Linked DNA regions of Homo sapiens: region 1 is linked to region 2. Evidence: promoter capture Hi-C in human tissues and cell types (Jung and others, 2019). All regions are on one chromosome and are shown on one strand. Each heading gives the region's core, a stretch centred on a gene start or on the middle of the fragment in contact. The rest is flanking DNA. Distances are from core to core; before and after follow the strand shown.

Region 1 (3,087 bases), core at 453-2,952, 130 kb after region 2:
AGACAGAGAAAGAAAGAAAGAAAGAAAGAAAGAAAGAAAGAAAGAAAGAAAGAAAGAAAGAAAGAAAGAAAGAAAGAAAGAAGGAAAGAAAGAAAGAGAATTGCTCATTAGTTCTTTGCCCTTTTCCAGACACCTGGAGAAGGAACTATAAAAAATGTGGGATGTGCTGGAGAAGAAAACCTATTGGTCTGGAGAAGGAATTTTTCTTCAGGGTGAAAATGCAGAGAATTTCTACATATTGAGTCACATGAAGGCAAAATATTGACTAAAAAGCTAGGCAGCAAGGAAGTAGGGATTTTAAGGCATTATGAAGGAGACTGCAGAGTCTTCCCTACTTGGCAACAACCCAGGACACCATCAGTCTATTTGGCCAGAGAGACCAAATGTTTAGTTATAAAATGTAGAGGGCCCTGAGACACTTCTTGTGCCTTGTGTTGATATTTTGTAGGGAGACATAAAACAATATGAAGAGTTGGTAAAATGGTTTTGCTCCAGAATTAGCAAGGAAGTATGAAGCATTCAGGGAACTAAGCTTTTTAAATGTCTGAAAATATGATTATAGCGCTACAGACTACAGAAAATCTAGAAAAACACATGAGAACTGAAGATTTAAATATTTTTATATAGGCTCTGCATTATGCCCATATTTGTTTATTTTTTTCCCCAATTTTCAGTCTGTTACTTGGAACACTGCTCCTTAGTAGTAATTAAACTGTTAAGTGGCAACTTTTTCATGCTGGATCTATTCTGCCCACCCTACACCACTTTTTTTTTTTTTTTTTTTTTGAGACAGAGTTTCACTCAGTCACCAGGCTGGAGTGCAATGGCGCAACCTCAGCTCACTGCAACCTCTGACTCCCTGGTTCAAGCAATTCTCCTGCCTCAGCCTCCTGAGTAGCTGGGATTACAGGCATGCACCACCACGCCCAGCTAATTTTTTTGTATTTTTAGTAGAGATGGGGTTTCACCATGTTGGCCAGGATGGTCTCGATCTCCTGACCTTGGGATCCACCCACCTTAGCCTCCCAAAGTGCTGGGATTACAGGTGTGAGCCACCGTGCCCAGCCCACAACTTTTTTTAAAGCTGTGTTTCTTCTAGGAGCCTCTTCTCCACGCCAGGCATAAGGAGGAGGTTTATTTTAATGACTTTCACCTTCCAGGTCTTTCCAGACATAAAGCAACTAATGTGTAAGTGCATTAATTGCCAAATCTCACAAACCACACTACTATGATTCTTGTCTTGCAGCCTCTAACTAAAATTGAACTAAGAATGCAAGTTTTCCTAGCCTATATCTGGTCATGGAAACCAGTTTAGTTCCTATCCTGCAGCAATGTTGATAGCCAATCATTACTGCCCTTTCAAATAACAATAAAAACTAAGTTAAGCTAAAATAAGTATATCTTCTTCCTCTTCCTCCTCTTTCTCTTCTTCCTCCTCCTCCTCCTCTTCTTCTCTTTCTTCTTTTTTTTGAGACAAGAGTCTCACTCTGTTGCCCAGGCTGAAGTGCAGTGGTGTAATCATGGCTCACTGCAGCCTTGACCTCCTCTTGCCTCAGGCAAGTAACTGGGACCACAGGCCTGTGCCACCATGCCTGGCTAATTTTTAAATTTTTTGTAGAGGGGGGGCCTCAATTTGTTGCCCAGGCAGGGGAAATAAGATAATATCTTAAGTTTTTAAATGTTTTTATGCAAAATATTTAATTGTTATTTTAGAGATAAGAGAGTATTTGTTGATTCTTTCTAGTGTTGCTGAAAAATGTTGAAATGTGTACAAAATGTCAACTGGGGCATATTTAAGGCAAGGTATTAAGTAACATGTTGTCTTTACTCTGAATTCTTATTACTGATGTCTAAAGGCACTAATTTCTCTAAAGTTGTATCTCAAATTATCTAAAGTCATTCCTCTGTTCCTGACTGGCATTTTTAAACATTATACCTGATATGACATATTCTTTAACATTGTAGCATAATTCCATTGTTTGAGACAAATTATGTAAATTTATTGCTAATTTATTGGGAGGGTCCATTGTACATATTGAATGAAACGCATTATTTCCCTATTTTTAAAAACTGGTTTAGTTAATATAACAGGACAAAATAAAATCAAATCCTGTGGTACAAATAACATAAAATAAAAAATTTTCTAGCATAGATCATAGGATTAAAAAGGTAAAAGCAGATAGAGCAGGAGATAGTTATGTCTAGTTTGATCCTGCTGCCTCATCACTCATGAGCCACATGGAGAGAACTTTTCGCCTGCATTTGTAGGCTACCAGCTGTCTCTCCTTTCAACTACTACACTCATCGCCTCTCCACCTTACCTCACATTTACTCCCCCACTCATTGGAACTTGGCTTTCATTTCCACTGCTTCACTGAAATCTCTTTGGCAAGGGTTACCAAAGATCTCTACATTGCTAATTCAACTAGGACTTTTTCATCCTTTCTGACTTCTGCGTTGCATTTAACACTGTCAGTCACTCCTTGAAATTCTTCCCTCTGTTAGCCTCGGTGACAGCATTCTCTTTCTGTTCCTGCTTATCCAGATTCCTTCTTCCTCCTCTGCCCACCTTTTACACTTTGGTCTTTCATTATATGTGGCTCTTGACTTACTGGTGTTCCTCTTCTACCTATTCCCTTGGGAGTCCTGTCCCATTGGCAAACATGATGGCAGAGTATCTTCCTGTATAGGGTATGAGAGGTTGGGTGGAAGGGTCTGGCACAGAGTAGATTCTCCATAAATACTTGTTGAATGAATCAAGGGGTTATATTAAAATATTTTCCCCGGAACAGAGGTGATTAGAGAATCTTAGGGTCTGTGGCAGGAAAGAAGGCAATATGGAAAAAAAACACTTGCTAAGTGCTTTCTTCAAAGCAACTTTATCCCATTGCAAGTTCCCAGATTCCAGCTTTCCTTCACTTTCCCCTTCTTTGGGTAGTCATCTGCCATCAGAATGACAATGTATCTACTTCTGGCAAAGAATTTTCTTGGGTTTCTGTAGTTGGGAAAGTCACATCAGGACTTTATTGGTCCCTTCTTTTGTGTAACAACAATAATCATATGCACATTTACCCACCAAACAGAAGC
Region 2 (3,021 bases), core at 124-2,623:
CTGCCTGGCTGGCTAGTGTGAAGCATACGGGGATTTGCAGTGCGCCCCCAACCATTGCTTTTATATCTACAACTTAAATGATTAGACATACAGCATAACACTGAAAGGAGCCTTAGAAATAATCTAGAGCCATTTTTTCCAAACCCCGCTTCAATCAGAAGTCTCTATATCTATTTTATATATGATATATTAAAAAAAAGTTTGACAACCACTAATTTGGCAAGCAATGACCCATAGAAGGCAAGTGTCTTCTCCAAGATCACACAGCTAGTAAGAAGTGGACCTGGGAATCAAACCCAAGTCTCCTGCCTTTGTGCCAGAGCTTCTTCCACAAAGCTACACTGTCGTCCGGGTGTTAACCTTGAACCCTCCCTCCCCATGACCTGGCAGGACCAAAGGGAGGGCTCCAGAAAGAACCTGGAAACCCCGGGCCCAGTCAAAGCCTATGAAGGTAACTAACATGCCTTTTCTGGAACTCCCAGGCACCAGCACCTAAGCACCTAGCTCTGCCGCCAGGCTTGAGTCCTGGTGACTCTATTCAGCTAAGAATGTGGAGGTCGACAACGGAGGAGGCAGGAGTCCGGGAGGGAGGAAGAGGAGGCCTCTGGAGAAAAGGATAGAGGAGGTGGTGAGGGTGAGGAGGCAGGAACCCACCTGAAGGCCAGGCAGTGCTTCTGCTGCCTCTCGGTGATAAGCAAGGTCAGGTCCCTGCAGCAGTACCGATGGTAGCAGGTCCCGCAGCAGAAGGTGAAGAACTCGCAGTTAAACCCCGGATGCCAGGAGCCATTCCGGTCCAGGTACCACAGGCAGTCCTCGCCGGCCAGCACTGCGGGCAGGGATTGGGGGTGCCCAGTGGCCACCAGGCCAGTTCATCCCCAGCCGCGCTCGGCCCCACTCCCCCGGCGGTCCCCAGCCTGACGGCTCCCGAACACTGAGGGTTGCCCCTTGTCTCCACCCTGAGGGTCTCAGCCCCAGAGCCCCCGAGGCCTCTGCCTGAAGCTGACCCTGCACCCCGGGATCAGCCTCCCATGGCCCAGCATCCTGGAGCTCCCTCTTCCCGCTTCTTGAGGACCCAGCAACACCCAAGGCTCCCGTGGCAGCCGGAGGGTCTCGGAGAAGCCCCGAGCCCAAGCCCCTCGGATCGGTCCCTCCCCTTCCTCCGCCCCCATCCCACTCCTGCCGCATCTCTCCCCATCCCCTTACCCAGGGGAGCCCCCAGCACCAACAGAGCGATTGCGGTGAGCGGCGCGGCCCGGCGGAGCCCCGCGGGTGGCATGGTGGGGGCTGGGCGCGGCCGGGGTCGGGCCTCCCAGAGAAGGGACCGCAGGACCAAGCCGGCCAGCTGGAGCTGCGGCGGGGCCCAGCCCGCGGCCAGGCTCGGGCTCCTCTTCCGCCTCCTCTGGGGGTGGGACTAAGCGCCCCGCCCGCGCTAACCCAGCCGGCGCGGCTCCGCGCAGCGCCCAGGAGTCCACCCACCAGCGACGCCCACCTAGCCTCTGGAGCTGGGTGCCCCTCACCCAGCAGAGCACTGCCCTGCTCCCCCTGTCCCCGGCTCCGCGGTGGTTCCTCCCATCCGAGCCACCATGGGCACTGCGGGCAGTTGGGCACTGCGGCCAGGGAAGCCTGGCTGTGTCCTGGACCCGCCCCCGGCCTGGGCCCAATCACTATGCTGGACTCCAGAAGCCCTGATCCTGGTGCCACCTCCGAATGCCCAGACACATGGGCCAACCCTGGAGGAGCAGGGCTGGACCTTCACTTGTGGGGGACCTCCTCTGCCGCGTCCAGCCTGGGACATCCTGTCGGGGGCGGAGAGGGAAAGAGGCTGGATGTCACCCCGCCCCCATTCCCAGAACACAAGCACTCATTGAGAGGCATTCAGAGTGGCTTTGTCCCCAGCGGTGCCCACAGGCCTGAACCCTGCCAGCTGCACTGGCTCCCTACGATGGACCCTTCCCCCTTCAAGTGGACAGAGCTGGCATGCACCAGCCCATGGCCTCACTAGCAGGGAAGGCAGGCTGCTGGGGCCACCTGGGGCCCATCCAGTTAAACACTCTTCACAGTGAAAGCCCTTCACAGAGCAAGCCTGTACTGCAATAGCCACCGGAGCATAGGGAGGGCAACAGTTAATTTCAGGTGGGCAACAGTTAATTCCAGGTGGAGACAGTGTTTTAGGATGGGAGAGGTCAGTCTTCACAGGTTTATACTGAGTGCCAGTGACTATGCCCCATGCTACATGAGGTACCCTCCGAGGAACTGCAAATTAAGCCAGGGAGATCATCAAAAGCCTACCTTAATCCCCTGCCATGTACACCCTTTCACACACTTCTGGGCTTCCACATCTACCTCACTGGAATCTTTCCACAACTCCATGAACTAAGCAAGGTTCATCAGTGTTATCAATCGCATTTCACAGACTGAGAAACTAGGACTCATGGAGGTTAAAGAACTTGTTCAAGGTAATACAGCCAGTAAATGGTAGAGGCATCAGGAAGACCCAAATCTAAATCAGGGTTGATCCCCAGCCGCAACAGCAGACAGTGTAGACAGTGAGTATTTCTTGTGTTCTGGGGTGAGAGAATCAGGACAGGTCCATGGAAGGCCCAGTAGAATCTTAGTAGGTTAGGGAAGGACAGCCGAAAGAGGAGCTACCCCATCCTGGGCCCCTGTGGGTGCTGGCACACCTACCCAAGAGAGCTGGAATAGGAGAGGATAGGCTCCTGCCCCAGAAAGTTGCTGGTAGCCTGATGGGCAAGAGTATGTCCTCACGCAGGACACAGTCATAAATGCAGCAGCAGGGACAAAGAGAAACGCCTCTGAATCCAGCACCACCTACTCAGTGTGCCCATTGCCATCCATCTCCTCTTTCCTACACTAAAAGCTCCATGACTGCAGGGACCACGTGGCTGTGTTCAATGTGGCCATCCAGCCCTAGCCATCAGTGTTGTCATTGTTGGTTGAATCATCTTCAGATAAGGGACTGTCTTTCCTGCCCAGAGCTGAATCTCCCATGTGTACCCTTGA

What was found. Contacts are between HindIII fragments. The study calls those that stand out against the background at their distance.
Region 1: a contact is called between a fragment that was not itself captured here and the fragment with the promoter of SHISA4 in region 2, in 1 of the 25 tissues and cell types used here (H1 embryonic stem cells).

Annotation. Positions count from the first base shown.
Region 1 is chr1:201,753,805-201,756,891 of GRCh38, reverse strand. The region is part of intron 7 of NAV1 (neuron navigator 1); the gene reads right to left. The region is part of intron 2 of IPO9-AS1 (IPO9 antisense RNA 1); the gene reads left to right. LOC124904483 (a long non-coding RNA gene) reads left to right here. Exons shown (of 2, transcript XR_007066790.1): 1 at 1-3,087. Among named protein-coding and RNA genes, the nearest start is that of MIR5191, 36 kb to the right of the region's middle. The HindIII fragment of the contact is 4,379 bases long and covers 1-3,087 here.
Region 2 is chr1:201,887,250-201,890,270 of GRCh38, reverse strand. SHISA4 (shisa family member 4) reads right to left here and starts at 1,373. Exons shown (of 5, transcript NM_198149.3): 1 at 1,204-1,373; 2 at 655-826. The coding sequence starts at 1,276. RefSeq lists enhancers at 1,236-1,530, 1,371-1,880. The HindIII fragment of the contact is 16,044 bases long and covers 1-3,021 here.